Linked DNA regions of Homo sapiens: region 2 is linked to region 1. The links are contacts of gene promoters, found by promoter capture Hi-C in human tissues and cell types (Jung and others, 2019). All regions are on one chromosome and are shown on one strand. The core of a region is centred on a gene start or on the middle of the fragment in contact, and the rest is flanking DNA. Distances in the headings are between cores, read along the strand shown.

The links. The method cuts DNA at HindIII sites, captures the fragments that hold promoters and counts their contacts. A contact is called where the count stands out against the background at its distance.
Region 2: a fragment that was not itself captured here is called in contact with the fragment with the promoter of SUMF1 in region 1 in 1 of the 25 tissues and cell types used here (liver).

Annotation. Positions count from the first base shown.
Region 1 is chr3:4,463,253-4,471,143 of GRCh38, reverse strand. It overlaps SUMF1 (sulfatase modifying factor 1), which reads left to right and starts at 3,875. Exons shown (of 9, transcript NM_182760.4): 1 at 3,875-4,168. The coding sequence starts at 3,899. LOC124909340 (a long non-coding RNA gene) reads right to left here and starts at 4,320. Exons shown (of 2, transcript XR_007095789.1): 1 at 3,636-4,320; 2 at 1,745-2,480. RefSeq lists an enhancer at 3,649-3,828 and a silencer at 3,999-4,178. The HindIII fragment of the contact is 11,378 bases long and covers 1-7,891 here.
Region 2 is chr3:4,594,966-4,602,856 of GRCh38, reverse strand. All of the region lies in intron 4 of ITPR1 (inositol 1,4,5-trisphosphate receptor type 1), which reads right to left. Among named protein-coding and RNA genes, the nearest start is that of ITPR1, 110 kb to the right of the region's middle. The HindIII fragment of the contact is 4,418 bases long and covers 1,591-6,008 here.

The DNA.
Region 1 (7,891 bases), core at 2,626-5,125:
GGTTGAGGCTGCAGTGAGCTGTGATCATGCCACTGCACTCCAGCAATCCAGCCTGGGTAGCAGGGCAAGATCCTGTTTTTTTTTTTTTTTTAAACCCAAACCCAAAAGGTTAGAATTTCCATATGACCCAGCAATCCCACTTCTAGTATATATGAAGACAAATGAAAACATGTGCAAACAAAAACTTGTACATGGATGTTCATATCAACATTATTCATCAAACCCAAAAAGTGGAGCCAAGTGTCCTGCACGTGTGAAGTAGATAACATTTTGACTTGTGCCTTTCCTACTCCAAGAGCCTCAGGCAGCATCACTGTCTGAGGGCTTTCAGAATGCCTTATGCATAGGCATATATTCCTACACCACATGACATCTGACCGGGGACCCACTTCACAGTGAAGGAGGTGCAGGGGTAGGCCATGATCACAGAATCCAGTGGTTTTATCCCTTACAATACGAACCCAAAGCAGCTGGCCTCATAAAGGGTGAAAATGGCTTACTGAAAGCACAGCTGAAACGCCAGCTTGGATGCAATTTCCTGCAAAGATGGGGCCATCTATAAGGATGCAGTATACGCCCTCAATTAGAGATGTCAGACTTGTTCCCACGTAGGAAGAATATATAGGTTCCACCAAGAGGTGGAAGTAGAAGTAGCCCCACTTACTATTACTCCTACTGACTTACTGGGATTTTGTTCTCCCATCCCTGCAACTCTGAGCTCTGCAGAGCTGCAGGTCCTGATCCACAAAGGGATGCTGTCTTTCTGTGGACACAACCAGGGTCCCATTGAACTACAAGCCATGGCTACCATCAGGGCACTTTGCATTCCCTGTGTTCAGGAACCAGAAAGCAAGAGAAGCCTCTAACCTGGAGGGAAAATTGATGCTGCTCAGCAGGAAGAGTGTCAGATGTCTTCTCAAAACTGCAGTGGCACCAACTTTCACAGTAAAAGCTTACCAGAACATCCATGACTTGGCCCAATGTTACCTTTCTGTTCTCCTTTCATCCATGACTTGGCCCAATGTTACCTTTCTCATCTCCTTTCCTTTCTTCTCTCCCCCTTGCTCACTCCACTGTAGCCATGCTGAACTCTTTGATGTTCAGTGAGCAGACAAGCTGCTTTCAGGACTGGGGTCTTTCATCCTCCCAGCTTCATGAGATAGAAGGAGCAAGAAAGGCTACAAAATGCAGAAGGAGCTCACACGTGAGACGGAGGGTGAGAGATATTTTATATAATTACACTAATTCGTACGAGCTGATGGCTGAGTTGGACTTTTTACCTCTTAATTTTTAGAACAAGCCTCCTCACTGACAGGAGCAAAATATTAGAGTGGAAAATATTGATGAGAAATCTCTCATCGATCTCATACTCATTGATTATTGACTAAAAAGTTAGCCTGAGACAAAAGAATGATCGTCCTGGAGAACCAACAAAGTTCCATCTTTCATAATGATTAGTAATAGCAAAGTTATTTTTGAGATATGTTAAATGTCAGGTACCAGGCTACACCTTTTATATACTTTGTGTTATTTAATCCCCATAAAATCTATAAGAAAAAGGAATTATTATTCCCATTTCACACACGAAGAAATAGAGGCTCAGAAAGCTGAAATAATTTGCCTAGGTCATACTTCATGTAAAGTGGCCAGCTTTAACCACAGCTCTTTGTGAGTCTAAGACCTATATTATTTTCTCCACAATTTGATTCCCCTTAAGAGAAAGAGATAATCGTTACTTCATTTGTTCATTCACTTATCCATAATTTAATAAATGTTCACTGAGTGATCATGTGCAGGCTTGGCCTGATTTTGCTGATACAGTGGCAAACGAATAGGCTCCTGCCTTACCTTCATGGAGGTTATAGCCTAATGGTATAGCTGGACCAGGAATCAAAGAAGTTCAGGTCTCTGAAGCGCAGCTGACACAGCATGTGCTGAGACTGATATTTGAAGGAGGCGAACAAAGATTACCGTTGACCTAGACCTTGACTATATATTATGCACAGTAAATACATACAACCTTGGTTAAGGCATTGACCTTTTAGCTTCATCAATTTTGAAATGAGTATAGTAATAATACATTTCTTGCCAAGTGGTTGTAATCTCAAATGAGAAAATGTGTGAAAGGCCTTGGCAAACTGTAAAATAGTCAACAAGGAGAAAAGGCCTTTTTTTTTTTTTTGAGAGATGGTCTCACTTTGTCACCCAGGCTGGAGTGCAGTGGCACAATCATGGCTCACTGCAGCCTCTGCCTACCAGGCTCAAGTGATCCTCCTGCCTCAGCCTCCGAAGTAGCCAGGACCACCGGTGTGCGTCACCATGGCCAGTTAATTTTCTTAATTTTTTGTAGAGACAAGGTCTTGCTGTGTTGCCCAGGCTGGTCTCAAGCTCCTGGCCTCTAGCGATTCTCCTGCCTCGGCCTCCTAAAGTGCTGGGATTACAGGCTTGAGACACGGTGCCTGGCTGGTCTTTTCTTTATGCTAAAAAAATTCAAACAGATGCTACATTAGAATAGTGCAATAAACACCCAGATGCCCATCAACCAGCTATGACAGTTATCAACTCATGGCCAATCATGCTTCATCTTTAGCCAGACCCTGATTACCCATTTTTTGGGAAGCAAATCTTTGACTGCCTATATTTTTATCCATATATATATATGTGTGTGTGTGTGTGTGTGTGTGTGTATACCTCAGTGAGTGTGTGTGTACCTCAGTGAGGGGATTCTTTTAAAAAATATAGCCACAAATACCATTATTACTCCTAAAAGCCTAAAAACAAAATTTACAGCAATTCCTTAATTTTATCAAATATTATAATTTGACTTAGTGGTTAAATTTCCCTGATTATCTCAAAAATTTTGAACTCAGTAGGTTTGAATTAGTATTTAGATAAGGTTCACATATTGCAGCTGGCTGCTATGTTTTTTTTTTTTTTTTTTTTTTCAGATGGAGTCTTGCTCTGTCCCCAGGCTGGAGTGCGGTGGCGCCATCTCGGCTCACTGCAAGCTCCACCTCCCGGATTCATGCCATTCTCCTGCCTCAGCCTCCCGAGTAGCTGGGACTACAGGCGCGTGCCACCACGCCGGGCTAATTTTTTGTATTTTTTAGTAGAGATGGGGTTTCACCGTGTTAGCCAGGATGGTCTCGATCTCCTGACCTCGTGATCCACCCGCCTCGGCCTCCCAAAGTGCTGGGATTACAGGCTTGAGCCACCGCGCCCGGCCTGCTATGTTGTTTTTTAATCTGTAAGTTTCTCCTTCATCTTCTTTTTGTTTTGGTTTTGCATTTTGTTCGATTACGGAACTGTAGAACAGTGGTTCTTAAACTTAAGTGTGGATTAGAATCATCTGGAGAGCTTGTGAAACCCTGGATTGCTGTGTCCAGTCCCCACGGATTCTGATTCCGTATTGTATTTCTCTTTTTTTTTTGAGACGGAGTCTTGCTCTGTCGCCGAGGCTGGAGTGCAGTGGCGGGATCTGGGCTCACTGAAACCTCCGCCTCCCAGGTTCAAACGATTCTCCTGCCTTGGCCTCCCGACTAGCTGGGACTACAAGCGCGCCATTACTGGGTCTTTGTGAGGATTAAATGAGATTTTAAAAAGTGAAGTGCTTAGCATAGTACTCTGGCACTTACCAAATGCCCAGCAAATTTGACTGTTATTTTTCAACCAAGAAATCATAAAGGGGTGCACGGTCTGTGGAAGGCCTTGAGTTTTGTGGAGTTTTGTGTTTTGCTGCGTTTTGACGTTAGCACAGGCAAGCAGCAGCGCCAAAGAAGTACCTGAAGAAAGGTGAAGAGCAACTCTCCTGGTCACTTCGTAAGTCAGCTCAAAATTCTGCCCCTTTAAGGAGGGCTCAGCCACGTGACCAACCGGGTCACATGGCCCGCGGGACAACATGGCTGCGCCCGCACTAGGGCTGGTGTGTGGACGTTGCCCTGAGCTGGGTCTCGTCCTCTTGCTGCTGCTGCTCTCGCTGCTGTGTGGAGCGGCAGGGAGCCAGGAGGCCGGGACCGGTGCGGGCGCGGGGTCCCTTGCGGGTTCTTGCGGCTGCGGCACGCCCCAGCGGCCTGGCGCCCATGGCAGTTCGGCAGCCGCTCACCGATACTCGCGGGAGGCTAACGCTCCGGGCCCCGTACCCGGAGAGCGGCAACTCGCGCACTCAAAGGTGCTCCATCGATTCCTCCGAGGCGGGTGGGGGCTGCTCGGTTCCTGGACGGGGTTGGAGTAGGCAAAGCAAGGCACTAGTAGGAAGGGAAGTAAAGGTTATAACCACACCCCAAATCGAGCACCTGCTGTTCCCGTATGAGGAGTTCCTTCTCCGTGCCTCACCGGAAGACTCCATTTAATTGACCATTAGGGAGTTTGGTTTGAGGGTTATTGTTACTTCTTTACCCCCTATTTCTTTCTCCCTCCAACCTGTTCTCTTAATGAGGATCTCATAATTTTAAGGCAATCAAATTATGGTTTAAATCACCATTTCCTCTCTTATTAACGGAATAAATTAGGATCCTGGGTCTCAGTATCTTCACCAGGGTTGTTGTATACTTATCTGTAGTCTCCTCGAGTACACTCTGCTTGAGGACAAGGGCTTGAATTGTTTATCCTGCTATTCTTAGCACTTTAGCACTTAGGAAGGGCTAAGCAAACTGTAGTTGTTTTATTGCTATTATTTATCTGTCTTGCTTAGCGCCTGTATGTGTTAGGTGCCGGGATATATAAATAACTTACTGGCCGGGCGCGGTGGCTCACATGCCTGTAATCCCAGCACTTTGGGAGGCCGAAGCGCGCGGATCACGAGGTCAGGAGTTCGAGACCAGCCTGGCCAACATGGCGAAACCCCGTCTCTACTAAAAATACAAAAATTAGCCGGGCGTGGTGGCGGGCGCCTGTAATCCCAGCTACTCGGGAGGCTGAGGCAGGAGAATTGCTGGAACCCGGGAGGCGGAGGTTGCAGTGAGCCGAGATCTTGCCACTGCACTCCAGCCTGGGCGACAGGGCGAGACTCCGTCTCGAAAAAAAAAAAGAAAGAAAGAAATAACTGTTACTTCAATCTGTCTGCCCGGTATTTTGCATATTGATGTGTTGTCGAAACAACTTATGGGTCTAAAGGTCAGGTCTTCTGACTCCTAAACTAGTGCTCCTTCTTGTTTACTTAGCAGACACTATCCTTTTCCCATTCCATTTTTCTTTCCTTTGGGTTAATCCTGACCAATATTTAGGACTTAGGTGAGAGGTAACATCCACAGTAGGTTTTACCTGATCTCCTCTTTCTCTCCCCTTCAATATTTCCGTATCCTGCCTCAGTAGTTATGTGTTTATTCTGACATAACAATTATTAAAGATGTTTTTCTGCTGATGTCTCTCCCCAACTGGACTGTGAGGGTGATGGGGTCAGGACCATGATTTAGTCTCTCAGGTGTAGAGTGTAGGAGGTTGATACCTGGGCTTCTCATTGTTTTTCCATCCTGTATAATTTTTGGCCTTTACTTTTTTTCCTGTTACCCTTAGAGCATGTCCTGCAGTACTGTTTATCTTTTGTGTGTTGAAGACTCCTGATTACTGTTTTAGTGTGTATTGGCCATACTTGATATTAATTCCTCTCTAACTTGCCTGGTAATTGATAATCAATCTCTCTTTCTTTTTTCTTTTCTTTTTTTTTTTTTTAGACGGAGTCTCGCTCTGTCACCAGGCTGGAGTGCAGTGGCGCGATCTCCGCTCACTGCAATCTCCACCTCCTGGGTTCGAATGATTCTCCTTCCTGCCTCAGCCTCCCAAGTAGCTGGGATTACAGGCACACGCCACCATACCCAGCTAATTTTTGTATTTTTAATAGAGATGGGGTTTCACCATGTTGGCCCGGATGGTCTCAATCTCCTGACCTTGTGATCCGCTTGCCTTGGCCTCCCAGCGTGCTGGGATTACAAACGTGAGCCACCGCGCCAAGCCAGTCTGTCCCTCTTTCTAAGGAGAAATCCTTACATCTGTTTATCTATTTTTTAATAGGGCAGCCATCTCATTTGCATATATACATTGGTCTGTCTCAAAATTTTATCTAGATTCCTCTGGCAAGCATTGAACATTTTTCATTTTTAAACATTCTATTTTCCTCTGGGTTCCAGAATGGGATGTGGATGTTAGAATCTTTTGGATTACATTTACAAGATGTACATTTTTCATCCCTATAGAGTGGTTTTGTGTCTTGACTGGATGCTATATGGGCCATCTTTGGCCAGTTCTTATAGTCTGCTTTCTACAATGCTTAGGGGCATCTCAATTTATTAACAAATTAGTGGTTGATGAGAATATACCTTCAAGCCTTCAAGGGCTGAACTTAATGACTGAAACTGAAGCAGTCTTGTTATCAAGACAATGACGTCATAGGAGGCTGTTCTTAATCTCTCTATTTTCCTTGGTTTCAAATGTTTTAGTTCATGTGCAGATGACTTTGGTCTAATTCTGACACTTTACCATTTATTCTAAATTCAGGAACTCCAATATTTCAGGAGAAGTAAATGAGCATAGTGGTGTTTCTGCCTTTTTTCCCCTCTTTGTTTTCTGTTTATTTGGTTTAATTAAACAAATGTTTATTTGGCACATTACTATATAACACTTGTTATGTAAGATTCATCCTATGTGCTGGGCATACAGAAAAAGACCCATACACTACCCACATGGCATTTACACTCTGGTAGGTGTTTCTCTCTCTCTCACACACACACACACACACAAACACACACAGACACACACATAAGTATCATTTTTCTATAGTGAGAATACTATAGGAGGGATATGTCCAGAGTACCTGGAGAGGAAGAAAGAATTAATTCTTCATGGACAAGTCGAGTAGTGCCTCAAAAAAAAAAAGGCCACATTTGAGCTAGGCCTTGGAGGAAATATTTTTCGGAGCTGGGAATGGAATTCCAGATTCAAGGACATTCCAAGAAGGAGAATAGTATCAACACATGGCACATTGTGGAAATGCGTGGTGTGTGCTGGGAAACATAAGTGATTTAAGATCTGGGAGTGACATGTTCACACTTTTTAATGTAACACTTTTTAGATGAGTCTTTTTTTGTTTTTGTGTATTCATACAATGAGTGTGTGTGGCAAGGTGAGGGGCACAGAGAAATAACACTGGGCTTTGCCCTCAAGAAATTTTCAGTTTCACTAGAAAGTTATGGCGATTAGAATTGTCTGGGAAACAATATAGATGTTTAAAAATTTAATGTGTATTCCCTCTGGTTATAAAAATATGATTCTCATTGAGAAAATTATCCTAATAGTTTTCTGCGTGGGTTATGATTTTGTAACAAGGAAGCAAAATGTTTTAGTCTGCTTTTATCTTTTAGAAGAGTTATTTGAAAGGCATTTAGGATCATGGGATGCTAAGATTGTAGGTGGCATGTCTGTACATATGGATAAAGTCAGTCTTGATTTCCTGTCTGAGGAGGTTTCTGACTGGTAATGCTTCCCTGGGCAATGAGGCACAATCGAATGCCGTCTCTTCCATGAAACCTTTCCACCTCCTACAAAGAAGTAGTTTTTCTATCCTCTCAGTTCCCATAGCTTATTTTGTTGTTGTTTGATGACAACTTGTATATTTTCTTCAATATGGTGCTAGTGTTTTTTTGTTTTGTTTTGTTTTGTTTTTGAGACGGAGTCTCGCTCTGTCACCCAGGCTGGAGTGCAGTGGTGCAATCTCGGCTCATTGCAACCTCTGCCTACTGGGTTCAAATGATTCTCCTGCCTCAGCCTCCCAAGTAGCTGGGACTACAGGCACCTGCCACCACGCCTGGCCAATTTTTGTATTTTTAGTAGAGACGGGGTTTTACCACGTTGGCCAGGATTGTCTCGATCTTTTGACTTCGTGATCCACCTGCCTCTGCCT
Region 2 (7,891 bases), core at 2,550-5,049, 130 kb before region 1:
CATTCTCCCCTTCTCTCAAGAGCCCAGTTATCTAGTGTCTGTCTCTATGAATTCTCGGTATTTTACATAAATAGAATCACAAAATAGGTAGCCTTTTTGTGACAGGCTTCTTTCACTTAGCACGAGGTTTGCAAGGTTCATGCATGTTGTAGCAGGTACTGGCACTTCATTCCTTTTTATGACTGAATAATATTCCACTGTGTGTCTACAACCCTTTTTAAAATCCACTTATTAGCTGATGGACATTTGAGTTGTTTCTACTTTTTAGCTACGATGAATAATGTTGCTATAAATGTTTATGTACAAGTTTTTTTTTTTTTTTTTTTTTCTGAGAGGGTCTCACTCCCATTACCCAGGCTAGAGTGCAATGGTGCAATGTCAGCTCACTGCAGCCTTGACCTCCTAGGCCCGGGTCATTCTCCCACCTCAGTCTCCTGAATAGCTGGGACTACAGGTGCACACCACCATGCCTGGCTAATTTTTTGTTGTTGTTGTTGTTAGCAGAGACAGGGTTTTGCCATGTTGCCTAGGCTAGTCTCAAACTCCTGGGCCCAAGCAATCCACCCACCTTGGCCTCCCAAAGTGCTGAAATTGTAGGTGTAAATAGGTGCACCTGGCTCGTGTACAAGTTTTTATGTAGACGTATGTTTTCAATTCATTTGGGTATATCCCTAAGGAGTGAAACTGCTGAATCATATAGTAACTCTATGTTTAACCTTTTGAGGAATTGCCTAACTTTTACAAAGTGGTTGTGTCATTTTCAATCCTGCCAGCAATGTGTGAGAGTTGCCATTTCTCCACATTCTCACCACTGCTTATTATTGTACATCTTTTTTACTCTAGCCATCCTAGGGATTTCTCACTGTGATTTTGATTTGCATTTCCCTAATGACTAATGCTACTGAACATTTCTGCATGTGCTTATTAGCCATTTATATGTTTTCTTTGGAGAAACGTCTATTCAAATCTTTTTCCTATTTTTAAATTGGGCTATTTGTCTTTTACTATTGAGCTGTGAGAAGTCTTTATATACTCTATATACTGGTCCCATATCATAAAAAAAATTGAAAGTATTGTCTACTTTTCTATGAGTTGTCTCTTCACTAGACAGTATCCTTTGAAGCAGGAAAGGTTTTAATTTTGACGAAGTGCAATTTATCTAATTTTCTTTTATTGCTTATGCTGTTGGTGTCATATTAAGAACCTGTCACCCAATTCAGGACCATGAAGATTTACACCTATGTTTTCTTCTAGGAGGTGTATAGTTTTAGCTCTTATATTTAGAGCTTTGATTCATTTTGAGTTAACTTTTGCATACAGTGTGAGGTAGGTGTTCAACACTTTTTTTTTTTTTTTTGAGACAGGGTCTCACTCCATTGCCCAGGCTACAGTGCAGTGCAGCCTCGACCTCCTGGGCTCAGGTGATCCTCCCACCTCAGCCTCCCGAGTAGCTGGGACTACAGGTGTATGCAACCATGCCTGGCTAATTTTTGTATTTTTTGCACACATAGGGTTTCACCATGTTGCCCAGGCTGGGTTCGAACTCCTGGGCTCAAGTGATTCTCCCACCTTGGCCTCCCAAAGTACTGGGATTACAGGCAGGAGCCAATGAGCCTGGCTCAACTTTACTTTTTTGCATGTGGAAATCCAGTTGCCCCAGTGCCAAAAAAAAAAAAAAAAAGAATATTTTTCCCCATTTAATTGTTCTGATATCTATGTTGAAAAATCAATTGACCATAAATTATGGGTTTCCTTCCCCTTTACATCTAACAGGTGATTCATGTCTACCAAACCCTCTCCACAGCCCACCACCACTAACAAAAGAAGAACAGAATTCCTCAATTAGTTACTCAGAAAATATTTACTTTCTGAAAAGAATTAATTTACTCCAGGAAGAAATGCAACTTAACAATGAATGAATATCTCTGAACAACACAAAAATCATGGTGTGCTGTCATGAGTTGTCCCCACACAATCAACAAATTAAATAGTGCTCATATTTTTATTTCTCCATTCCTGCATTGTCTGATGGCTACTGACATTCTGTGGGAGTCGCCCTTGTTGGGGGTGGGGAGTGAATCAATTTTAGAGCGACAGGAAATTAGCTCATGTGACCCAATCCTGACCTCCCAAGGAATATGTCTACCATCAACTTCACATTCCCAAAATGCCACCCTTCACACCATAATCCCCACATTACAGTTACTAAACAGTCCACGGACTATCATTTTACGTAGAAGACACAAACATTCACATATATTTGACAAATGCCAGGAAAATGTTCTCAATTTAGAGGCGAAAAATTAAAGCTATTTAAATTCTTCTCAAAACAGACACAGACACACACACAAACACGCACACACACACACACAAAACAGGAAGGTCCGTAGAGATGGTACCCTTTCCGAGCTCCAGCCTGTGGGCCCTCAAAGAGCCCATCCACAGTATCCCCAGCAAGACCACCCACAACAAAACCTGGGGCTCGGAATCTCCTTAGAATCACAGAATCAATACACGACCACAGAAATCCTCAACACCAGTTCTAATTCACAAGGGAACTTGAGGGATGTGTAGAATGAATGGCTGTGGGTACCAGAAACTGGGGGCCAGCATGTCCAAAAATCTGCCTTGAGTGGAAACTGTGGTATGCAATGAAACAATGCCACAGAGGTAAAATTTTTAAAAAAGACAAAAAGACTAAATAAACTATTGATGCATACAACACAAATGTATTGTAACATACTTATGCTATGTGAAAGAGCTCGGGCAAAAGAGAAGACTTGCTGTACAATTCCATTTGTACATACAATGCTAGGAAATGCAAATAACAGCGATAAAGCACATCAGGCTTCCTGGGGGCATGTACCAGTGTAGGAAGGAGGGAGTAGGGACAACCAATGGGCAGGAGGAGACTTCTGGGAGAGACTAAGATCTTCATTATCCTGTGGTGAGTTTCACGGTTTCATACATACGTCAAAACTGACAACTATATCCAACACCCTACATATTGGCACTCCAACCTGACACTGTCCACTCCAAGACTGATCCAGTGGAGAGTATATCACACATGTGCCTCCTGCTGGTATCAGGGAAGTCAAGTCCAACACACTGCAGAACTCAGCTGCAAAAACAGCAGCCACTGTCGGAGTAGGGGAAGGCTTGCTGCAACCAAGGTCCTTCATTCAACCATTTTCACGTTTAGAGTTCACTGCTTCTCTTGTTCCCAGTTTTCATCAATCAAGTACAGCATCACAAACCCAACTGCCTACAGCCATCACTCAAGAACTGTAAGGTGAGGACCAAAGGAAGTAGGATGTTGGCAAGACTGTAAAAGTCCTTCTCCCCTCAAAAGAAGAAAGCTTTACTTAGTTTCTGACACTTGTTGTCATCTGGCAATGCTAATCCACTGTGGCTAGATTTTCTGCATTTTCCCCCAAAAGCCAGAAATTTGTTTTTTATGTAAAATCTCCCAAACTGTAAGGGTAAACCAATTAACTCAGATTTTAAAACACTGTGCAAGTTAAACAAAAAACAAGCGTGAGCAGGAGTCAGCCTATGAGCTGCTGATTTGCAGCTACAGAGAGTGAAGGCCATGAACACAGGCTCTGTGGTTACTAGCTCTGTGACCGCAGGCAACATATTCAACCTCTCTGAGATCCCATATCCATATCAGCAAACCGGGACTAACAATAAAGGATCCCCATCTGAGGACTGTAGTAAAAATGAAATATTTTACCCATAGGAAACCCTCAGTAAGTATTCTCAATATTAGTCTCCAAGTGAGAACATTTCAATAGGTTTTTCCCAAAATTAGGTGATAGCCAGAAAAGATGAAAAAAAAAAAAAAGCTCATCAGTAATGATCCTGTGCACTATAGACCACACCTAGAATATGACCTTTAGTTCTGGAAGCCACACTGTACAAAAGAGGAAAAATAGTGGATATGGCCACTGTGAGAGGTACCGGGACACCCAGTGGGTTTGACGATGTTCTCAGAGTAAAGTGAGATTCAGAGAAGTTCAGGAAATGACATAAAATTGCACCTGAATTGAAACACTCTGATTTAGAGCCCAAATTTTTAGGTATAATTTTGGAAAACTACATTGGGACAAAGTTGGGACAATTTCTTTATTGCAAGACTTCACAGAGCCTTTAATATATAACTCAGCCACTTATGAACATCTTAAAGGCAGAAGTGATAACCATATTTCCTAAAACTTTTCTGCATTTTTTTTAAGACAGGGTCTAGCTCCATCTCCCAGGCTGAAGTGCAGTGGTGTGATCATGGCTCACTGCAACCTCAACCTCCCGAGCTCAAGCAATCCTCCTGTCTCGGCCCCACCGAGTAGCTGGGATCACAGGCACCCACCACCACACCCAGCTAATTTTTGTATTTTTTTGTAGAGACGGGGTCTCACTGCATTGCCCAGGCTGGTCTCAAACTTCTGGGCTCAACTGATTCACCCACTTCATTCTCCCAAAGTGCTGAGATTATAGGCGTGAGCCACTGCACCCAGCCTGCCTTTATTTTTTAATTCTCTGTTCAAACAAGGGTCTCCCCTAAGTGAGGAGAGGACCTCCTTGCTACACTCAAGTATCACACATCCTGGTTAAAGAGATTACTACCATATGACATGCACAGAAGCCAATGACAGGTCACAGAGGAGGATTTGCTTCCTTTCAACCAGGGGAGAGGGGAAGGATGGTACAAATTTTAACTGAGAGGAAGCACTAAAGTTCTAGCCATGCAAGGCCCCATAGACCCTGCATAGGTGCTAAAGGCCCATGCCATGTGCCAACCAATAAGACGCAGGAAACGGAAGACTCAGCAGGCACTCAGTCACAGAATCACACCGCAGGAAAGCTGAAGGATGGTTTATCAACCTAGCTCTCTGAATCTGAGTCTTCTAATACTATCTGCCTCCTAGTACATGGGATTGGTCTCCACAGATGTTTGCAAAACCAAGTTCAGGCATGAACACTAGTGAGAAGGCCACTGTGACTCTGTATACTTTAAACTCTGGCCAGACAGCCAGGAATGGTCTGCCAAGCTAGGAGGTTACCTGCAATGAACAATGGCTAAATAGGATCACATATCACACCAGGTTGCAGTTTCCAGATCAAAGTTAACCTGGACTTTACCTCTAGCCAAACCGGGTCACTGACCACTTCCAAAACACAGCTTGCTTTCTCTCTCATTTCTACAATTTGATGCACACTCCCTGGTGCCTAGAATGTGCCCCCTTGCCTCATCTCTTTCACAGAGGAGCCCAAATGCCCCTTTCCCTCGGTGATGCCAGCCAGAAGTCATCTCTCCAACTTGGGAAATTCCAACACCCTTTTGTCTTCCCTCTCTTAGGATACTTCTATACGGCCTCGGATTACTGTGTCATTTCCTTACCACACTACAGTCTCCGTGGGGGCTCAAATGACGTCTTCATCATCTACATACACCCAAATCCCCATAAAACCTTACTTGCTGTTCTGCACATCTGGATATATTTACTGGACTAATAGTAGCTTCATTTAAAAAACATTACCTTAAGCAAAATTTGCCAGCTGGTTGACTTCAAGCCAAATCCAGCTCACAGACAACATTCTATCTGGCCTACACAATGTTTTAAACAGGCTGGTATTAATTGCCACTATTTTTAAAAGAGGGCAATTTCACATTCAAATCCACCTCCACATCTTTTCCTTAAAAAACAAACAAAACAAATGAACCAGGATTTGGCACCACGGGGCTCATATTTCTGCATGGCAGCAAGAAGCTGGAGGCGAATAAGAAGACCCCTTCAGACAGGCCACATAGTTCCTTTTCTCACGCAGTCCTCTCTGAGCAAATGTACTCACTCAATGCTCTACAATCCTAACTCTCTTTTGCTGAACATACAGTAAGCGGCAAACCCCTGGTAACATATCAACACACTAAAACTATCAGCCTCTAAAAGGTGACGTACTTTTACTGACCCAGAGAAACAATATAAAGTCAACTTGTTTCCATGTGAATTACAACCAGATTCCTATTCCCCCAGGGAGTGACATCTGGCTTGCCCTATATAATGAGCATGGAGGAGTTGGGGTTTAAACACTGCCAGGGTATACAAATGAAAGGTGACTGTGGGAAGACCAGCAGCTAACGAGCAGCTCTGATCACAAGAGGCTAAGATTTCAGGGAGGAAAGACAGTTCCATCTACCAGAATTAAAAGGATTCTAGCAGAGGCAGTCATATAACCCATATGACCTCAAACCAAAAAGGTGACACTTTATACCTTTATTACAATAACAACCTGGTTCAGATAACTAAAAACCCATCTGTGACCACCAGTTGCTAAGCCTTTTGAAACACAAATAAACCCCATGTTCCAACCGTGCTAGCTTTAAATAAGTGATTAGTAAAGCAACAAACACCATTGTATATAGTGAACAGACTATTACTTCACTCAGCTAATAAGTCTGCGATTTGGAACCAAAGATGATAAATACAGAGTAGACATAAACATTTTTAAAAACTAATACTTTAAAAGCAGGAAAGAAAAACTCATGGAAAGAGTTTATCTTATGGTAAAAAGCCTTGGCTTTTTACCATAAAGTCAGACCGTTTACAATAAACTCTAAGGAACTTTTGCTTAATTCTTGGCTCATCAGGAAATTTCGCTGTAGAAACTTACCTGAAGTATAGATACATAGATAGCAACTTAAGCTCGGTGAAATGCAGAGCTTTCCAAAGTGCAGAGAAGTTTTGAGAAGAGCATTTGTCTGTAATTTGGACGTGTCACAATTCTGTAACCGCTGCTGGTATTCACAGCAAACGCCCCCACCCCCTGCAATAAATCAGGGGATCTGATTTCATTTCTGGTATCACCTTCATCAGTTGAGTGGTTGTGGGAGTGGCAGGGCAGGCTGCACTTAGGCCAGTTTCAAAGAAAAACATACAGTCACCATAGTTCTTCATCTACGACATGAGAGCCATACCTGACCTTTCTGATTTCTTAAGAACATTCCGCCACTGCCATGCTACCACAATGCTCTCAAAGGTCATCAGTGACCTAAATGCTAAAGTCAACTGACTTCTCAGACCTCATCCTCTCCAGTCTTGGTGCCATGCGACCTTCTTCATCACCTCCCCTCAAAGCATCCACCTCCCTGCAACCCCCAGCTCCTACTCTTGGCCTTGCTGTCCTTGTAGGCCTGTTCACTCTCTGCTCTTAAAAACATCTCTAAGCCGACACCCCAGCTCCTCATACATAAAATGGCCAAAATTAACTATAATATATACCAGGTCTTATGCTGAGTCTAAGAGTTTTGATATAGTTTGGATCTGCACCTCCACCCAAATCTCATGTGGAATTGTAATTCCCAGTGTTGGAGGTGAGACCTGGTGGAAAGTGATTGGATCACAGGGGTGGATCCTTCATGAATGGCTTCGCACCATCACCTTAGTGCCGTTATTGTGACAGTGAGTTCTCACGAGATCTGGCTGTTTAAAAGTGTGTGGCACCTCACCACTCTCTCTCTCGCTCCCACTCTGGCCATGTAAGATGAGTCTGCACTCCCTTTGCCTTCCACCATGACAAAGTTTCCTGAAGCCTCCCCAGAAGCCGAGCAGATGCCAGCATCATGCTTCCTATATGTCTGCAGAACCATGAGCTAATTAAACCTCTTTTCTAATAAACTACCCAGTCTCAGGTATTTCTTTATAGCAATGCAAAAACAGACTAATACACGTTTCATTATGATACTTGACTCAGCAAATTCCCATGCCAACCTTTTGAGCTATTTTCACCAACCTTATTTTTCAGAAGGGAAAAGTGAGGCTTAGTAATTGGCCCAAGTCATACATCAGGCAAACATGAGCACAAAGGAAGGGTTTGAAAACCAGGTCTAAAT